6 separate regions of the Homo sapiens genome follow, and regions 2, 3, 4, 5 and 6 are each linked to region 1. The links are contacts of gene promoters, found by promoter capture Hi-C in blood cells and fetal thymus (Javierre and others, 2016). All regions are on one chromosome and are shown on one strand. The core of a region is centred on a gene start or on the middle of the fragment in contact, and the rest is flanking DNA. Distances in the headings are between cores, read along the strand shown. Region 1 holds the start of SMCO1 (single-pass membrane protein with coiled-coil domains 1). Region 2 overlaps LOC124909478 (a long non-coding RNA gene). Region 3 overlaps TFRC (transferrin receptor). Region 4 overlaps PIGZ (phosphatidylinositol glycan anchor biosynthesis class Z (Gwada blood group)). Region 5 has its middle 20 kb from the start of ZDHHC19. Region 6 overlaps SLC51A (solute carrier family 51 member A).

Region 1 (2,729 bases), core at 1-2,500:
TCCAGACACATTCTTCTAAAACACAATTCCGATTCTGTGACTCAACTGATTACAAATGGTTTATGTCATCCTGGCTTGCCCAGTGATATACTCAGAGGCAAACTGGATCTCCTCAGCAGGAAAGTCAAGGGCCTTCACCCTTTGCTCCTGTCTTCCACCAGTCCCCTCACCCATCCTAGTTACCAATTACACGAGACATCTAGTTGCTGCTTGAATACATTATGTGGTTCCAAGCTTACATATGGCTTATATGCACTGTTTCCTCAGCCTAGAATGCCTTCCCATATTTTTCTCCCTCATAAGCTCCTACTTGCACTTTAAGATCCAGCTTAAATGACCCTATATGAAGAGTTCCTTTTTCTAGTGTCAAAGGCAAAATTGGTTGATCCTCCCTTCATGTTCGCATAGACCTTTAGGAACATCACCATTGTAAGGTCAGTCACATTAAATTGTAAATGTTTTTCAAACTTTTCTCTTTCCTACAGGCTGTGAGCTCCTTGAGGGCAGAAACCACATTTTACTTATTTTTGTAAATCTAGGATTTAGCATATGCATACATTCAATGGAGTTACAGCACCTGGGAGCAGACTTTTCTTTATTGTTAATTTACATAGGTTTGGGCCTGGAAGACTTAAACCACTGTAATAGAGACGGAATTCTTTTTTTGGACGGAGTCTTGCTCTGTTGCCAGGCTGGAGTGCAGTGGCACGATCTCGGCTCACTGCAACCTCCACCTCCCGGGTTCAAGTGATTCTCCTGCCTCAGCCTCCCAAGTAGCTGGGACTACAGGCGCCCGCCACCATGCCTGGGTAATTTTTGTATTTTTAGTAGAGGCAGGGTTTCACCATGTTCGCCAGGCTGGTCTCAATCTCTTGACCCTGTGATCCGCCCACCTCGGCCTCCCAGTGTGCTGGGATTACAGGTGTGAGCCACCGCACCGGCCACAGAGACAGAATTCTAATGAGCATGTCTGCAGTTCTTTATTTCTATTCTTCATTCTTCTCTTACCCATCTTCCCAGAATAGCAGACCCATGCTTGCTCCCTCCCTATAGCCCTCAGCAACCTTTTCATTGCCTCCTTCAAGGATATCAGGGTTGTGGTTTCATTGTTCATCTTCTGAAGGCAAAAGGAAAGAAAACAAAAACAAAGCAAAACAAAAAAAGCAATAAATGTTTGAATCCAGAATTTTCTGCGGTCTTCCTCTCAGCAACAGGCAGCAGTAGCAGGAGCGCTCAGTCTACATTCTGCCTGAAAGGTCACTCAGTACAAGAAGCTTTTAATAGCCTGCAGATCCAAATATAGTTTCAAAGAACTTATCTCGTGGACACAGGTGTCCTGGAATGCACTATAACATTTGCCTTTGAAAACTGAACCATAGTACATTAACATACAGCAACAACCATGTATAATTAATGACTGTGTACATTATGGTAAATGTATATACAGATACATTAACGTAACGTATAGGATTAAGTTTGATGGAAATATTACTGTCATATTTTAACTGCTTCATTATTCAATTACAACCTAAATTAGGTTTGAAGAGTGCCCCAGATCTTTTATGATGATGATATCAAAGCAAAAAATCTAACTATCATTAGAAACTACTAAATACTTGTTATGGCTGGGTATGGTGGCTCACTCCTGTAATCCCAGCACTTGGGGAAGCCAAGGTGGGAGGATTGCTTGAGCCCAGGAATTCAAGACCAGCCTGGGCCACAGAGCGAGACTGTCTCCACAAAAAATACAAAAATTAGCCAGGAGTGGTGGTGCATGCCTGTAGTCCCAGCTACTCAAGAGGCTGAAGTGGGAGGACTGCTTGAGCCCAGGAGTTCGAAGCTGCAGTGAGCTATGATCATGCCACTGCACTCCAGCCCGGGCAAGAGGATAGGATATATATATATATATATATATATATATATATATATATATATAATTATATATAAAATTATACATATAATTATATATAATATATAATTTATATCGTATATAAAATATATATATAATTTTATATAATTATATATATATTAGATTAGGAATTGAATATAAATGTGGAAATAAAATAGGACTGCTGTTTTCATGAGATTTAAAATCTAGTTGGGAAGAAAGAATATATCCTTAAATAGAAAATGTATATGGGATGTGTGCTAAGTAGATAGAGACCATAAAAATAATAGAAGGTGAGAGACTAAGTCACTGAAATCTTGGGTCCTTGGGGAGATATTCACCCTGAAGGTGGTACTTGGCTTGGCCTTAAAGGTCAAGGTCTTTGATTATCAGAGAAGAGTGTTAAGGGTGTTACGAACTGGAGAAATTGTGTGAGCAAAATCACAGAGGTGGCAAAGTAAATGATGTGTTCAGGAAACAATGAGTAGGTATGTTTTGAGCAAAAGATTCATATAAGAAAAAGAAAATAACCACACCATTTAAACTGGTAAGAGCCATGTCACGTATTTGTTCTTTCACTGAATACTTTATTCACTTATTCAATATTTACTGAGCATCATAGATATTAATTGAATGTATAAAACCTACGAATGGATGAGCAGCACTATTCCAGGCACTGGTAATATAGTGATAAGTAAGGCGAAATCCTTGTCCTCAAGGAACATACTAGCAGGGAGACAGCACATAAGGCTTATAAGAGAGGGGATGCTTCTAGCTAGCTTGGTAAGGAGTTTGGACAGATGTGAGCTGTTGGTTCTAGAAGATTAATCTAGGCTCAGGT
Region 2 (3,050 bases), core at 60-2,559, 490 kb before region 1:
CAGGGCTTCAGTGCAGGGCCACACAGCTCCACACGCACCTGCCAAACGCAACAGCCTCTTTCAGCGTCATTAAAATATTTCAACAGGAGGACTGAGTTTAGACTCAACCTGTGTTTTCTCCCCTGGAAAACGAAGGTTTCATGAAGCAAGGAAGGTCTTTACTGTCCTCATCCGAAACGCTGAGGCATCTGTGATGTCTGCTGTAAGTGCCACCAGGCTCTCCGCTGAAATCTCGCAACGGGAAAATAGAGACCGTAGATTCTGCTTTTAGAAAGGGGAGAATCAGAAGTAATGTGGAAATGCCATGTCCTCGTTCATAAACATCTTCTTTTACAAATTCCACAAGTTTAGTTACTTTGGGATTAATATGGGCTTATCTTAAAGTGCGTTTATTAACTTAGCGTGAGTTGTTCAAATGCATTCTGGATCCTGAGCCGACATCCAGCAATGCTGAGTGTGCGCCTGTGTGAGTCACCAGCCCTGATGAGCCTCAGGTTATTGTGTTCGTAAAATGAAGGGGCTTAGGCTTGCTGCGATTTTTTAAAAACCATTTTTAACAGTAAAAATTTTTTTCTTGCTACATAAAAATGTACAAGAAAAACTCAGACATTACCAATGATAAATTATAATTTTATTAATATAAATATTTTTGTGAGCTCAATTTATATGACTTAGTTATTATAAAAGAAATAAGCAATATGAGGTGGCCATTACCATCCTGTCCCGTTTTATTTTGTTCATATGCTATTGATAAATCTTGATGTATACAGAAAAGTAGTTTCAAAGAATAATAATTTTTAAAAAGGACTTGTAATTTCAAGAGACTTTTAAAAAAATCTGCAATTGCTTTTTAAAGGTTCTAAAACAGTTGTCTATGCCTTAAAGCTAAATAACTACAAAGAGCTCACTCTTCTCACATTCTGTATTATAAATATGTAAGTCAGAGAAACAACAGACAAAATCATAAAAACACATGCATGAACAAATGGGCCTTGGTTTACATTTAATTGGATCTTGCAATACACATGGGTTATAGTAGTATTTCTGTGTGTAATTTTACATGAGTGGATTGCTATCAAAATAAAAATTGTCTACAATCTCTTTTCAGTGGTAAATTTGCACAAATGGTAAACATACACATAGAGATAGTGGGAGAAATTTATTTCGTGGCTTGCAAGAAGACAGGTTAAGTTGGGACATTTAATTGTTTCATTAATGCTACATTTTAAATGCACTTGTATGGGCATGGTATTTTAATGTATTATTATGACTTTTAAATGCTCAATGTTACAGATGGAATATTAGAGCAAGTACTAACTTATATCTTCTTTGTGTGTGCTTTGGAGGCATCAGGAAATAAAGCAGCCCTTTTCCCTTTTCCCAGAAGCTGTGCTTCTGCAGATTAGATCTCTCTGTAACACACACACACCCATGCACGCATGAGCGCACACACACGCGCACACACACGAGCACACGCACGCGCAGGCACACACATGCACACACACGCACACGCACACACACGTGCACACATACACCCAATATAGCCTTTAGGGTTAAAAGGAGGAAAAGAGAATTTGCCTGGATAACTCTTACCCAGGTATTTTCTGGGGAGATCTAGAATAATCTAAGGGGGTAAGCTGGACTAGCCAATGGGAAATCAAAACGAAGATACTGGAGAGATGTTCCCAGAAAAGGAGCATTCCTAATGGGCTTGGCCCTAGTCACATGCAATTCCCCAGATGTGGTTGGTGTGGCCAAGGTTCCAGCATTTGTCAGCTGCTTTCTTGCCACTTCTTGTGCTGTGAGGAGTATCCCCTCCCCAATGCCAGAGGCAGTCGTCCTCTAACCCCCTTCAGAGTAAAGGGCCAGCAATTGGCAGTCACAGGAAAAGTAGTGAGACAGGAAGGTGCGGAGCATGAAGTCCCACCATACCGGCCTCCAGTGTCTGGCACAGAATATGACGAGGAACCTCCGTGAATTGGAATCTTCCACATCTTGATATATGGGAGTTTCTGCTAGATATAATTTGACTTAAAAAAGAAAGAAATATGACCTTCTTCACCTAAATATTGTAGAAGAGGTAATGATTGCAACCTGGATGTTTTACATTCTGAGATGCTATTAAACCAATATTCATCACAAATGTATTGATAATTTTTTAGAAGAACAGAAGAGATCCCATCATATTAAATGAAGTGTATCAATTATAAGATGCATGCTAACTCCAGAAAAAGCAAAGCATGAAAAAAATCTGTCTTAGAATGGAAAAATACAGTAGTTAAACTATTTTTAACTGGAATTTAAATGCAACATTTTAGGATATGAAGCTGTCAACTCATTTTGAAAACTGCTGGCTCAGATGACCTCAGCGATAGGAAACCTCTAAAAGATCATGAATCTAATCAGGTAATTTTCTGTGCCTTTGCCTGAGAGTCTAGCTGAAAGTGGTGCAGTTTTTACAGAAGAGGAATAACGTGTCCCGAACTGGGAACCCTTCACCGGCCACCACTCCAGGCGGCGCTTCACTGTGGAGTTTTGGTCGCCAGAGGGCTCCAGGGGACTGCTGGGGAAGGCCAGGACATGGAAGAGGGCCTAGAGCCAGGGTTACCCGGGAGGGGGTGGACCCATTTTGCCAAGCACCTGAGGACCATACCGTACAGGATCCTCTCAAAACCACCCGCACACTAGGTGGGAATAAAGGATAAGAGAAATTAATGTGTGCTTAGCATGTGAGAGCTGACATTCAGAGTCAGCCTGAGCAAAGAGATTCATACGGAAGGACGAAGCGCATGTTGTGAGACAAAGAACACCCAATTATAAGATAGAAAACCTTGGTTCTGGGAAATTCCTGAACCTGTTTGCCCATCCATGAAAGAGTAAGAGTGATACTACCTTCTCCACCTTATTCTTGTAACAGAACTGCCCGTTTCTTTCGTGCCCACAGCTAAGTGTTTAATAGGAACAATGTGACAAATATAAGGTCATTGCTCTTACACAAAAGGTTCAAGAAAACTGAGAAAGATCTAAAAATTCCCAAAGGAATGATTTTT
Region 3 (3,050 bases), core at 193-2,692, 470 kb before region 1:
GCAGGAGGGATAGGTTGTAGGAGGCTTATGTGGTGACTGTGGAACCAGAGCCCCCATATATGCTTTTAGGAAGATCTGGTATAGAATTCTCATTTATGCACAGACAACTTTGAAAATGTACATAAGAAATCGGTAAATGACCAGGCCCAGTGGCTCACACCTGTAATCCCAGCACTTTGGGAGGCTGAGGCAGGTGTATTACTTCAGTCCAGGAGTTTGAGACCAGCCTGGGTAATAAGGCAAAACCCCATCTCTCAAAAAATACAAAAATTAGCTTAGCTGGGCATGGTGTTGCCTGTCTGTAGTCCCAGCTACTCTCAGGAGGCTTAGGTAGGATAGCTGGAATCCAGGAGGCGGAGGTTGCAGCAAGCTGAAATCATGCCACTGCAATCCAGCCTGGGTGACAAGAGCGAGACCATCTCAAAATAAAAAAAGAAAAATTGGTAATTGTGGAGATTTAGAGGGATGACAACTCTGGAGACTAAGAGGAAAATACTTTTTAATACAGACTTTTCTGCACTTTGACCGTATGTGAATATTTTCAAAAAAGGCATTAAAAATTATACAAAGCTGGCCAGGTGCGGTGGCTCACGCCTTTAATCCCAGCACTTTGGGAAGCCAAGGCGGGCGGATCACCTGAGGTCAGGAGTTCGAGACCAGCCTGGCCAACATGGCGAAACCCCATCTCTACTAAAAATACAAAAATTAGCCGAGCATGGTGGCATGCACCTGTAATCTCAGCTACTGGGGAGGCTGAGGCAGGAGAATCGCTTGAACCTGGAAGGCAGAGGTTGCAGTTAGCTGAGATCACGCCATTGCACTCCAGCCTGGGCAACAAGAATGAGACTCCATTTCAGAAAAAAAAAAAAAAGAAAAGAAAAGAAAATTATACAAAGCTGTCCATTTGGGGTGGATTAAGCATGAGGCAGCTTAAAGGGCAAATGCAGCAAACTGCAAAGGCTTTATTTAACTCAGCACCTAAACCTGTTGACAGCCACAAGGAAGACATTGGTATCTGATATTGAATTCTAGGCAAAGCTGTCTTGCAGATAACCAGGTGTTTTACAAATATTTGTTTAGGACAGCTTCCTAACCCATGACCTTTCACATAGGCAGTTTCTCCCGTAGAATACAGCAGTTTAATAATCATCTTGCTTCTCAAGGGTATGAATGTGGCTAATTTGGACACGGGAAAGCTGGGGCATAGGTGAGGCAATTAGGCTTCCAATTCTAGGGGCCACAATTTTCGTGGCCATACTTAAGAATCCTGGCTGGCACTCATAGCAATGAGATTCAATTGTGTGATGGATTTTTTGGTAACCACACGGTAGAAGGCCAAAATAAGAAAACTCTCAACAATTACGCCTTTTGCTATAGAGCTGGTGTCCACTAACCATGTGGCTACTGAGCACCTGAAATGTGGCTAGCCAAAACTGAGATGTGCATTGCTTGAGGTACAAGGGAGTTTGAAGACACGGTATGGAGCACACCTGTAATCCCAGCCTCTCAGGAGGCTGAGGCACAAGAATTGCTTGAACTTGGGAGGTGGAGGTTGCAGTGAGCTGCGATGGCACCACTACACTCCAGCCTAGGCGATGGGGCGAGACTGTCTCGGGAAAAAAAAAAAAAAGGAGGCAGAGCGTGGTGGTGGCTCACACCTGTAATCACACACTTTGGGAGGCTGAGGTGGGCAGATCACTTGAAGTCAGGAGTTCAAGATCAGCCTGGCCAACATGGTGAAACCCCATCTCTACTAAAAATACAAAAATTAGCCAGGCGTGGTGGCCCACACTTGTAATCCCAGTTGCTCAGGAGGCTGAGGCAGGAGAATCACTTGAACCCAGGAGGTGGGGGTTGCGGGGAGCCGAGATAGCGCCACTGCGCCCCAGCCTGGACGACAGCAAAGATTCTGTCTCAAAAATAAATAAAATTACATATGTGGTATATGGTGACAATATATTGTATATTTAGAAATTGCCAATAGAGGCTGGGCATGGTGGCTCACGCCTGTAATCCCAACACTTTGGGAGGCTGAGGCAGGCGGATCACCTGAGATCAGGAGTTCAAGACTAGCCCGGCCAACATGGTGAAACCCCACGTCTACTAGAAATATGAAAATTAGCTAGGCGTGGTGGCAGACACCTGTAATCCCAGCTACTCGGAGGCTGAGGTAGGAGAACTGCCTGAGGCGGAGGCTGCAGTGGGCTGAGATCGCCCACTTAGAAGACAGCAGCAATCATGTACCTTGGTATTTACCTAAAGAGCTGAAGACCTATGTTCACAGAAAAGATATACACACAGGTGCTTATCAGTTTATTCATAACTGCCAAAACTTAGAAGCAAGATTACTTAGTAAGTAGGTGAGCTAGATAAACTATGGTAACTGCAGACAACAGAATATTGTTCTGTGCTAAAAAGAAATGAGGTATCATGTCATGAAGACATGGAGGAAACAAATGCTATTGCTTAGTGAAAGAGGCCAATCTGAAAAGGCTATATTCTGATTCCAACTGTATGACAGTCTGGAAAAGGTAAAATTATGGATATAGTAAGATCTGTGGTTACCAGGGCCTTATAGAAGAGATGGATGAATGGGCAGAGCACAAGATTTACAGCAATAAAAACTATTCTGTAAGCTACTAGAATGATATTACATATTTGTCAAAAACCGTAGAACAAACCCTAACGTAAACAGTAGACTAATGATGCTGACGGTGCTAATGGTGCACCCGTGTAGGCTGCCCATTGTAACAAATATGCCGCTCTGGCGCAAGCTGTTGACCGTCATGGAGGATGTGTAAGTGGCAGAAACAGTGGATGTGTGGGAATTCTGTTTAATTTTGCTATGAGCCTAAAACTGCTCTTTTTAAAAAATTTATCTAAAGAAATGACAACTCAGTGTTTAAGTATTTTATTAAATCAGACAAGGAATCTCCACACTGTTGCACATAACAGCTTTTATACAATGATAAGGACATATCATTTGTTTACAAAGAAAGTCTAAAATTTCAAGAACATTCAAAGAGCTAACACAGTAAAGGTCATGCAAG
Region 4 (3,050 bases), core at 281-2,780, 440 kb after region 1:
GACCTCAGGTGATCCACCCGCCTCAGCCTCCTGAAGTGCTGGGATTACAGGCGTGAGCCACTGCACCCTGCCTATGATACTTAAATTTTTTGTAAGAAGAATATATCCAAGTAGTACTTACATAATTTAAGAAATACTTGCTGCCTGTTCTGTAACCCTGTGCCCCAACGTCCCAGAGCTCTGAGGGGTGGGGGCGCGGGAGCAGCTCCACTCCAAGCCTCATTGTTCACAGCGTCTCTTGCTTGATCACCTGCTGGCTGTTTCGAGCTGATCATACAGCCTGCGGATCATTCGGGCTCTTTGATTCTGCTACTTATTTCTCCAGACTTTCAGCTGTTTTATCTATCTATGTTAGATGTTGAAAGGGAAGCAAAATCCAGGATCAAATCTATCTGGCTGCTTTTCTGGTTAAAAAACGACGTGAGGGAAAGAAGATGAGCCTTTTAACTTAAAAAACAAATTCACCTGTTGAGCCCTGTGGCAAAGAAAGCTGATGCCTCCAAAATATCTATTCCCTCCTCCTTCATTAGACTTTTTTTTTTCTTTTTTTGAGATGGAGTCTCGCTCTGTTGCCCAGGCTGAAGTGCAGTGGCACAATCTTGGCTCACTACAACCTCCACCTCCTGGGTTCAAGCAATTCTCCTGCCTCAGCCTCCCAAGTAGCTGGGATTACAGGCGCCTGCCACCATGCCAGGCTAATGTTTTGTATTTTTAATAGAGATGGGGTTTCATCATTTTGGCCAGACTGGTCTCAAACTCCTGACCTCAGGTGATCCACCTGCCTCAGCCTCCCAGAGTGCTGGGATTACAGGCGTGAGCCACTGCATCTGACTCCTTTGACTCTTTTTCTGGGCACTTGGTCAGATATAAAGACTATAATTTTTAGCTTCCTTTGCAGCTAGGTGTGGCCTCATGATACATTCTGCCCAGTGTGATAGAAATGAGCAAAAAGCATGCGCCCTTCAAAATATGACCTTAAAGAGAGAAGTAATGCCCTTCTCCTTTGTTGGCTGGAAAGACTGCCTGTAGGCTTGATGGCTGGAGCTCAAGCAGCCGTCTTGAACTATGAGGATGACCCCACATGCCCATCACATCTGAAAGGCCTCAAGGCCTTTGGGCGAGACGGTATGGGCCAGGCAACCAGCCTCATGATGTGTCCCACACCGCCTAACAGATGAGTGAGTGTCCCAGGTCTGGGTTCCCTTACCCCTCTCTTGAATCTACAGAAGAGAAGTTTCATGATCTCAGATCACAGCCCTATGGAAGCTCTTGCCAAACACTGGGGAAGCCTAACTCTAATAAAAGTGTTCCCATGGGAAGTCCAACACAGCTCTCATTCTGAATGACCTGTATTGTTGGTCCAAGCAGGGATACATCAAAGAGACTGGTGGTTTATTAGCATTACCCAGAAGGTCAGTGTCACCACTCGGGAAGGAGATATGAAGTCCCCACTTCCAAGTTCTTACCCCAGAGAGAGAGGCTGCTGCTCTGCTTGTGGATTTACTACTCATCTACCCAGACATGCTACTCCCTCCCCACAAAGTCTCCCGTCAGCTTCTCAAGCAGACTCTGCTGCAGCTTGTCTCAGCCACACATGCGGAGTTTTACCTGCCATCACCTCAGGGGACTGGAAGAACTCATCTGGGTGCACATAGCCCGTCTGCGGAAGGAGACACCACAGCACTCGGAGCAGGCTGAGACCACCCCAAAGCACCCTGACTGCCATCTTCAGATCCAGTTGTTGCCAACACACCGGGCCCAAAACCTGGAATGATGTCCCAGCTGCTACAGATGCTACGCTGGATCCACAGATCTGCATCTGTTGAGGATAACAGTTGTTGGTTATCACGATGTAAATTATAATATATTCAACTGTCTGAACAAACTGAAAATGGATCTGTCATTTAATAAAAATGACAATAATAATAATAGCTACTTCATACTCTATGCCCACTAACTGCCAGGCACGTGACATGCATATTTCATTTAATCCTTTCCACAGTCTGGAGCAGTGGGTCTTAGGATCCCTGTTGTACAGATGGGGAAACGGAGGCCTCTGCTGAGTAACTTGGTTACTTGCTGATCATATTTGCTAAGGAGTCTGATGGTTCATTTTATGTGTCCACTTGACTGGCCTAAGAGATACCCAGATAGCTGGTAGAACATTATTTCTGGCAGTGTCTATAAGGGTATTTCAGGGAGAGATTAGCCTTTGTTGTGGTTTTTTTGTTTGTTTGTTTTTTGAGACGAAGTCTTGCTCTGTCACCCAGGCTGGAGTGCGGTGGCATGATCTGGGCTCACCGCAACCTCCACCTCCCAGGTTCAAGTGATTCTCCTGCCTCAGCCTCCTGAGAAGCTGGGATTACAGGCACACGCCACTACGCCCGGCTAATTTTTGTATTTTTAGTAGAGACGGGGTTTCATCATGTTGGTGAGGCTGGTCTTGAACTCCTGACCTCATGATCCGCCCACTTTGGCCTCCCAAACTCCTGGGATTACAGGCGTGAGCCACCGTGCCCAGCTAAGATTAGCCTTTGAATTGGTAGACTAAGAAGATCAGCTGCACCAGTGTGGGTGGGCATGATCCAACCCATTGAGGGTCTGAATAAAACAGAAAGGTGGAGGAAGGGTGAATTTGCACTCTCTTCAGCTGGGATAGCCATCTTCTCCTGCCTCAGACATCGGTGCTCCTGGTTCTTGGGTCTTCAGACTCTATGTCTCACACCAGTGTGCCCCAACCCACCTCCCTGAATCAAGCTCTCAGGCCGTCGGACTAGGACTGGGAGTTACACTGTAGGCTCCTCTGTTTCTAAGGCTCCCGACTCAGACTGAATTCAACCACCAGCTTTCCTGGTTCTCCAGCTTGCAGGTGTCAGATTGTGGGACTTCACCAGCCCCCATAATTGCATGAGCTAATTTTCATAGTAAATGATAAAGCCAGTTCCCTATTGTTTCTGTTTCTCTGGAGAATCCTGACTTATACAGGGTCTAAATATGACATTTGCTCAATGTGACATTTGCAAGGAAGATCAGGGTACCCAACAAATCTG
Region 5 (3,050 bases), core at 317-2,816, 320 kb before region 1:
TGGCCAAGCTGGGCCAGCAGCCCAGGCCCCCACCAAAGGCTCAGAGTGAGCTGGGCACCACCAGGCCTTGAGGCCTTCCAGAGGCTTCTACTCCAGGGCACTCTGAGGCCGGGGGCTGTGGGTGGCTAACAGACTATGCCGCCAGCTGGGAGCAGAGGGGGCCCCATCTCTGCCCCAAATCCAAGTCTGGCCAGCTCCTTCCCCTAGGGATAGATACTTGGTGGGGAAGAGAGGGAGCTGAGAAGGTCACCCAAGAAAGGTGAGCCGGGCCGTCTGCCTGGGAGTCAGAATGAGGTGGCCCATCCTCGGACTTGACCATTTCCCAATGCCCTGTTTAATTTAATTTTTTATTTTATTATATAGGGACAGGGTCTCAATATATTGCCCAGGCTAGTCTCGAACTCCTGGACTCACATGACCCACTTGCCTCGGCCTCCCAAAGTGCTGGGACTACAGGCATGAGCCACCACCCCCACCCCCCAGATAATCTAAATTCAGAGCCTGCAAAAGGCTCAGGGCCCAAGGAGAGAAAATGGAGACAGAAGAGAAAGGGAATTTCTCCCTCCAGGTCCCCACGCCTGAGTCAGACCCTCTCACTGTTTCCTTTACAACCACCGCACACCCACCTGGACCTGGCCTAAGAAAAGGAATACAAGTCCATGAAGGTTCTCCCTTCTTTTTCTTCTTTTTCTTCTTCTTTTTCGTCTTTTCTTCTTCTTCTTTTTCCTCCTCCTCCTCTTCTTCTTCTTCTTTCTTCTTCTGTCGCCCAGGCTGGAGTGTAATGACGCGATCTTGGCTCACGGCAACCTCCACTTCCGTATCTCAAGGAATTCTCCTGCCTCAGCCTCTGGGACTACAGGTGTGCGCCACCACACCCGGCTAATTTTTGTATTTTTTGTAGAGACAGGGTTTCGCTATGTTGGCCGGGCTGGTCTTGAACTCCTGACCTCAGGTGATCCGCCCACCTCGGCCTCCCAAAGCGCTGGGATTACAGGCATGAGCCACCATGCCCGGCCCATCATGTACCCTTCTGATCCTACAAGCGCACTGTGAGGTCGGCCGGGCATGGAGTTTGGTTTCAACTTCACGTTGAGATCGGAGCAGCTCTGAGAGGTCGGGGCTTCATCCAGGGCCACACATCCAGCTGGCAGCAGAGCCACCTGTCCACCCAGCTCTCCGGATGCCCGGCCTGTGCTCCCTACACAGCCGCTTACTGCCCTGCCAGGAAAAGGCAGGCAGGAGGGATCTTTCCACTCCCATTAGGGGCTGAGGAACAGGCATCTAGGAGCTAAATCTGACTGGGGGAGTCTCCCAGCCCAGACAGCCCAGGGCCCTGCCCAGGGGTCAGTGCTTTCACTTGCTGACCTCATGCCTCCACCACTACTCGGGGACAGATGAGGTTCAGCATGACTCAGGTTCAGCCAAAGGATACTAATGGGCCATGGAATAAATCCTGCCTGGAGCCCTGTTCACCTCAGGACTTGTCCTCAGACCATGGACCTTCCTCCCTGGTCACTCAGTCAAGGAATCGCAGGAGATCAGTGCAAGAGTAGCTCTGAATGGGCCGGGCGCGGCGGCTCACGCCTGTAATCCCAGCACTTTGGGAGGCCGAGGCGGGTGGATCACGAGGTCAGGAGATCGAGACCATCCTGGCCAACACGGTGAAACCCCGTCTCTACTAAAAATACAAAAGATTGTCCGGGCGTGGTGGCGGGCGCCTGTAGTCCCAGCTACTCGGGAGGCCGAGGCAGGAGAATGGCGTGAACCCGGGAGGCAGAGGCTGCAGTGAGCCGAGATCGCACCACCGCACTCCAGCCTGGGCGACAGAGCGAGACTCCGTCTCAAAAAAATAAAAAAATAAAAATAAAAAACAGTAGTCCTGAAGCCCCCAGCCCAGCACACCTGGTCTTTGCAGGCCCGAGACACCCACAAGAGTAACAGCAGCGCCTCATTCAGGAGGCTGAGGACTAAGTGAGCAAACGCAGGCCGAGTGCTTCCCCAGGCCTGGACCTCCATTAGCATTCAACTGTGTTGTCATTGCTGTCATTGCTACACTGGAGTCAGATCACTAGGCCTTTAGGAGGAAGAACGTGCCCTTCCTGTTGACAGGCCGGGCCTCTGACCCAGGCGTCTCCTCTCCGTGGGGTGGCAGGAAGGGCCCAGGACTCAGGTGGCAGATCAGGGACCCCCTGGCCTGGCCTCTGCTCAGCTGTGTGATCTTGGGGAAGCCCCGCCTTGCGTCCCCCACCGCCTTGGTTTTCTTCTTGCTGAGAAGTGAGGGAGGTGGCTGGCTGTTCAGCAGGGCCCCTTCCACTTTGGGAATCCCCAGTTTCAGCAGCAGAACTTCCCCAAGCAGAAAGCTGCTGGGAAAGTGGGTGCCCAGGTGGGAGGCGGAAGCCCCAGGGAGAGGCAGACGAAGGTGCCCTGTGCGGGCCCCGCCTCCAGCCTGGTGGACAGTGCCCTGGGTTTCCATGCCCAGACCAGGGCCTTCCTGGAACCGCAGCCAGGACGTGAGAAGCTGTCAGACAGCTGCCTCTGTGTTCCTGGAAGCTGTGGTTCAGGAAAAGTGGGAGGGAGAGAAGGAGGGAGAGAGCAATCGAGGGAGAGCAGAAGAGTGTGAAGAGAAAGAGAAAGACAGGAGGAGGAGCAAGGGGAAGGGAGGAGGCAAGCGTGGAAAGGTGAGAAGAGGTGAGGCAGAGGCCTACGTGGAGAGGCAGAGCCTGGGACGCTGCCTGCGGGGGAGGTCAGGTGAGGAGCAGGGAGGGCGGAGGCTGTGAGCAGCCACCCTGGAACAGAGCTCGGAACACCATTGCTTTTGCCTTCCTTCAGCCTGAAACACTGCCTGGCCACAAAGCAGAAGCAGCAGTTGCTTTCTTAACAGGAGGCAGAGCCGTTGTTGGGTGACCCTCTTCTCATTCCCTTGAAGAATCTCAGCCCATGCCCCCATCCCTTCTGGCCTGGAGACACCAGTGTTGGGGAGTTTTGTGTAAAACAGTAACAAAGACCTCGTGTCCGAAGCAGCACCCTTTACCTCTGTTGTCAGGGCCACA
Region 6 (3,050 bases), core at 157-2,656, 290 kb before region 1:
ATTTTTTTGTAGAGGTGGAGTTTCTCCATGTTGCCCAGGCTGGTCTCGAACTTAAAATTAAATGCTAAGAAAACTATTTCAGGCCAGTCACGGTGGCCCATGCTGCAACCCCAGGAGGTCGAGGTTGCAGTGAGCTATGATTGCACCACCAGCCTCAGCCTGGGCAACAGACCGAAACCCTGTCTCAATTTAAAAAAAAGAGAGAGAGAAAAAAAAGCTATTATTCTAGAAGAATGATTGAATCAATTTTTTTTTTTTAATTTTAAAATCACGGCTCACGGCAGCTCGAGCTCTGGGCTCAAGTGATCCTCCCACCTCATCCTCTCGAGTAGCTGGGACTGCAGGCACACACCACCATGCCTGGGCTAACTTTCAATTTTTGTAGAGACAGAGTCTGACTTCGTTGCCCAGGCTGATCTCAAACGCTCCAGCTCAAGCGATCCTCCTGCCTCGGCCTCCTGAAGGGCTGGGATTACAGGCGTGAATCACTGCGCCCGGCCTTAAAGCTACTTTTTATTGAACAAATACTACACGCCAGGTGCTTTGCTAAGAAGCTTAAGGAGAGGATAAGTAACCTGTCTATGGCCATAGAGCTATTAGTAAGTGGCATTTTACTTTGTTTTTGTTTGTTTGTTTGTTTGGTTTGGTTTTTTGTTTTTTTTTTTTAAGAGACAGAGTCTCGCTCTGTCCCCCAGGCTGGAGTGCAGTGGTGTGATCTCAGCTCACTACAAGCTCCGCCTCCCAGGTTCACGCCATTCTCCTGCCTCAGCCTCCCGAGTAGCTGGGACTACAGGCGCCCGCCACCACACCCGGCTAATTTTTTGTATATTTTTTAGTAGAGACGGGGTTTCACCGTGTTAGTCAGGATGGTCTCGATCTCCTGACCTCGTGATCCGCCCGCCTCGGCCTCCCAATGTGCTGGGATGACAGGCGTGAGCCCCCCCGCCCGGCCTGGCATTTTGCTTTGAACTCAAGTGTCTGACTCCAGTGCTCTACACTGTGCTCCTAAGCTACTGGAAGCAAATATGCAAGCATGGAAATAATTTTTGGTTAGAAAGCTGGGATTATGGGTGATTACTCTTTTTTCAAATTCTTATTTAATGTTCCTGTTTTCATTATTTTAAAAAGTAGTCTTTGCTATTCCAGAGACAGTGGGAAATTTAATAGTTGCTATAAGTATGATTATATTCAAAATGGTCAACTAGACAAGCATTTCCCAAAGTCTCAGACTCTTAATCCCAAGGAGTCCTTCATGGAAACAGAGTTCTGTAGGAAGTTAAGTTTTGTGACCAGGCACGGTGGCTCACACCTGTAATCCCAGCACTTTGGGAGGCCGAGGCGGGTGGATCACTTGAGGTCAGGAGTTTGAGACCAGCCTGCCCAACATGGTGAAACCCTATCTCTACTTAAAATACAAAAATTAGCTGGGCATGGTGGTGGGTACCTGTAATCCCAGCTACCTGGGAGGCGGAGGCAGAAGAATTGCTTGGATCCACGAGGCGGAGCTTGCAGTAAGCCGAGATCGCGCCACTGCACCCCAGCCTGGCGACAGAGTAAGGCTCCATCTCAAAAAAAAAAAAAAAGTTAAGTTTTGTAAAAGGTGCGTTCTAGACCCTCCTTTTGGAAATTTACAATGTAAATTAGCAGATTAAAAATGTCAGTATGCTCTGCAGGAATCATCACATTTAACCTTAATGCATTTCCAAAAATTCTTCAGCTGTGGAATACTTTTGTCCCATAGTGTCTATTTAGATGCCCTTTTGGGGAAATTGAGTTTAACCAGCAAAGAAGAGGCCATCTCCTAAGAAGATAGTTTGATGGACAGACCCAGTATCGGGCTATGGATGCTAAGGAACTTTTCCTTTCCTAATTAGAGTACCAAAGGCAACAGTTAGAAGACACTGCAAAACCATTTGTGTTGAACAGTCAGAATCTGCCCCACCCTCACCTTCATAAATGGAACGGCCCTCCCAGGGTTGCCTTTGATGATCTCTCCCATATCCACGAGTACACACACCTGGAGTCACTGTGTGTCATGGTTAATAAGAGTGTGGGCTTAGTCACGAATACCTGCGTTTAAATCTCTGCTCCTTCACTTCCAGGCTGTGTGACCCTGGGAGATGTGCTTCCTTCTCTGAGCCTCGTTTCCTGAAAAAGTCTATGAAATGCAGATGATGATAGGAATTCTCATAGGTTATTTCTTTCATTCAACAAATAGTTACAGAGCCGTTACTCCTCCGGGCGTTTGAGAACAGAGCACAAGCTTGACAAGGTCCCTGCCTCCGTGGAGTGTGCACCACAAGGTGGAGAGCCGAGAATAAGCGAGTAAACAGCTGTGTAAATACAAATAGCCCTGATGTGGGCGGAAGGAGGACATAACGTTACCCGGAATGGAGATTTTCACGGAGCAGGGAGCAGTTAGGGAAATGAAGACTGGGAAGGACTGGGTTGGTGGCGTGTGAAAGGGCAGTTTTTACGCTCTCCAAGGGCTGATGAGCACACGGGGCTGGGGGTAAGAGAGGCTCTAGCAATGGCCCCCGCTTCCCAACCACAGAACATTGGTTTTGGAAAACCACCTGCATTAATGTTGGCTTTTTCCTATCTGGACTTTGCCTATTGTCTGAGTTTTTTTAATTAAACATTTCTATTATAAAAATCATTCAGGTTTAGTTAAAAAAAAAAAAAGAAAGAAAGAAAATACAGAACAGTAAAAAGAGAAAAAAATCATCTACAGTCCCACCCAGAGACAGGCACGGCAAATATCTTAGTGTAATTTCCTTTTTTTTAATGCCTTTTTTTTTTTTTTTTTTTTCAGACAGAGTCTGGCTCTGTGGCCCAGGCTGGAGTGCAGTGGTGTGATCTCAGCTCAATGCAACCTCCACCTCCCAGTTCAAGCAATTCTCCTGCCTCAGCCTCTCCAGTAGGTGGGATTACAGGTACTCGCCACCATGCCTGGCTAATTTTTGTATTTTTGGTAGAGATGGGGTTCCACCATGTTGGCCAGGCTGGTCTCAAATTCCTGACCTCAAGTGATCCACCCGCCTCGGCCT

What was found. The method cuts DNA at HindIII sites, captures the fragments that hold promoters and counts their contacts. A CHiCAGO score of 5 or more calls a contact.
Region 2: a contact is called between a fragment that was not itself captured here and the fragment with the promoter of SMCO1 in region 1, in 4 of 17 cell types (endothelial precursors, M2 macrophages, erythroblasts and 1 more). The highest score is 13.2, in endothelial precursors.
Region 3: a contact is called between a fragment that was not itself captured here and the fragment with the promoter of SMCO1 in region 1, in 1 of 17 cell types (endothelial precursors). The highest score is 5.7, in endothelial precursors.
Region 4: a contact is called between a fragment that was not itself captured here and the fragment with the promoter of SMCO1 in region 1, in 1 of 17 cell types (endothelial precursors). The highest score is 5.0, in endothelial precursors.
Region 5: a fragment that was not itself captured here is called in contact with the fragment with the promoter of SMCO1 in region 1 in 1 of 17 cell types (endothelial precursors); the score reaches 5.1 in endothelial precursors.
Region 6: a contact is called between a fragment that was not itself captured here and the fragment with the promoter of SMCO1 in region 1, in 5 of 17 cell types (endothelial precursors, M2 macrophages, M1 macrophages and 2 more). The highest score is 9.6, in endothelial precursors.

Annotation. Positions count from the first base shown.
Region 1 is chr3:196,514,096-196,516,824 of GRCh38, forward strand. SMCO1 (single-pass membrane protein with coiled-coil domains 1) reads right to left here and starts at 1,251. Exons shown (of 3, transcript NM_001077657.3): 1 at 1,065-1,251. The coding sequence starts at 1,114. The HindIII fragment of the contact is 1,040 bases long and covers 233-1,272 here.
Region 2 is chr3:196,023,698-196,026,747 of GRCh38, forward strand. LOC124909478 (a long non-coding RNA gene) reads right to left here. Exons shown (of 5, transcript XR_007096234.1): 3 at 109-261. Among named protein-coding and RNA genes, the nearest start is that of TFRC, 57 kb to the right of the region's middle. The HindIII fragment of the contact is 4,121 bases long and covers 1-3,050 here.
Region 3 is chr3:196,046,389-196,049,438 of GRCh38, forward strand. TFRC (transferrin receptor) reads right to left here. Exons shown (of 19, transcript NM_001128148.3): 19 at 2,896-3,050. Among named protein-coding and RNA genes, the nearest start is that of TFRC, 34 kb to the right of the region's middle. The HindIII fragment of the contact is 5,207 bases long and covers 1-3,050 here.
Region 4 is chr3:196,950,213-196,953,262 of GRCh38, forward strand. It overlaps PIGZ (phosphatidylinositol glycan anchor biosynthesis class Z (Gwada blood group)), which reads right to left. Exons shown (of 3, transcript NM_025163.4): 2 at 1,609-1,819. The coding sequence starts at 1,819. Among named protein-coding and RNA genes, the nearest start is that of NCBP2AS2, 9.1 kb to the left of the region's middle. RefSeq lists a silencer at 1,146-1,440. The HindIII fragment of the contact is 3,758 bases long and covers 1-3,050 here.
Region 5 is chr3:196,190,135-196,193,184 of GRCh38, forward strand. No RefSeq gene overlaps it. Among named protein-coding and RNA genes, the nearest start is that of ZDHHC19, 20 kb to the right of the region's middle. RefSeq lists enhancers at 726-1,344, 2,305-2,374, 2,330-2,993. The HindIII fragment of the contact is 5,680 bases long and covers 1-3,050 here.
Region 6 is chr3:196,221,066-196,224,115 of GRCh38, forward strand. The region is part of intron 2 of SLC51A (solute carrier family 51 member A); the gene reads left to right. Among named protein-coding and RNA genes, the nearest start is that of SLC51A, 6.1 kb to the left of the region's middle. The HindIII fragment of the contact is 1,709 bases long and covers 553-2,261 here.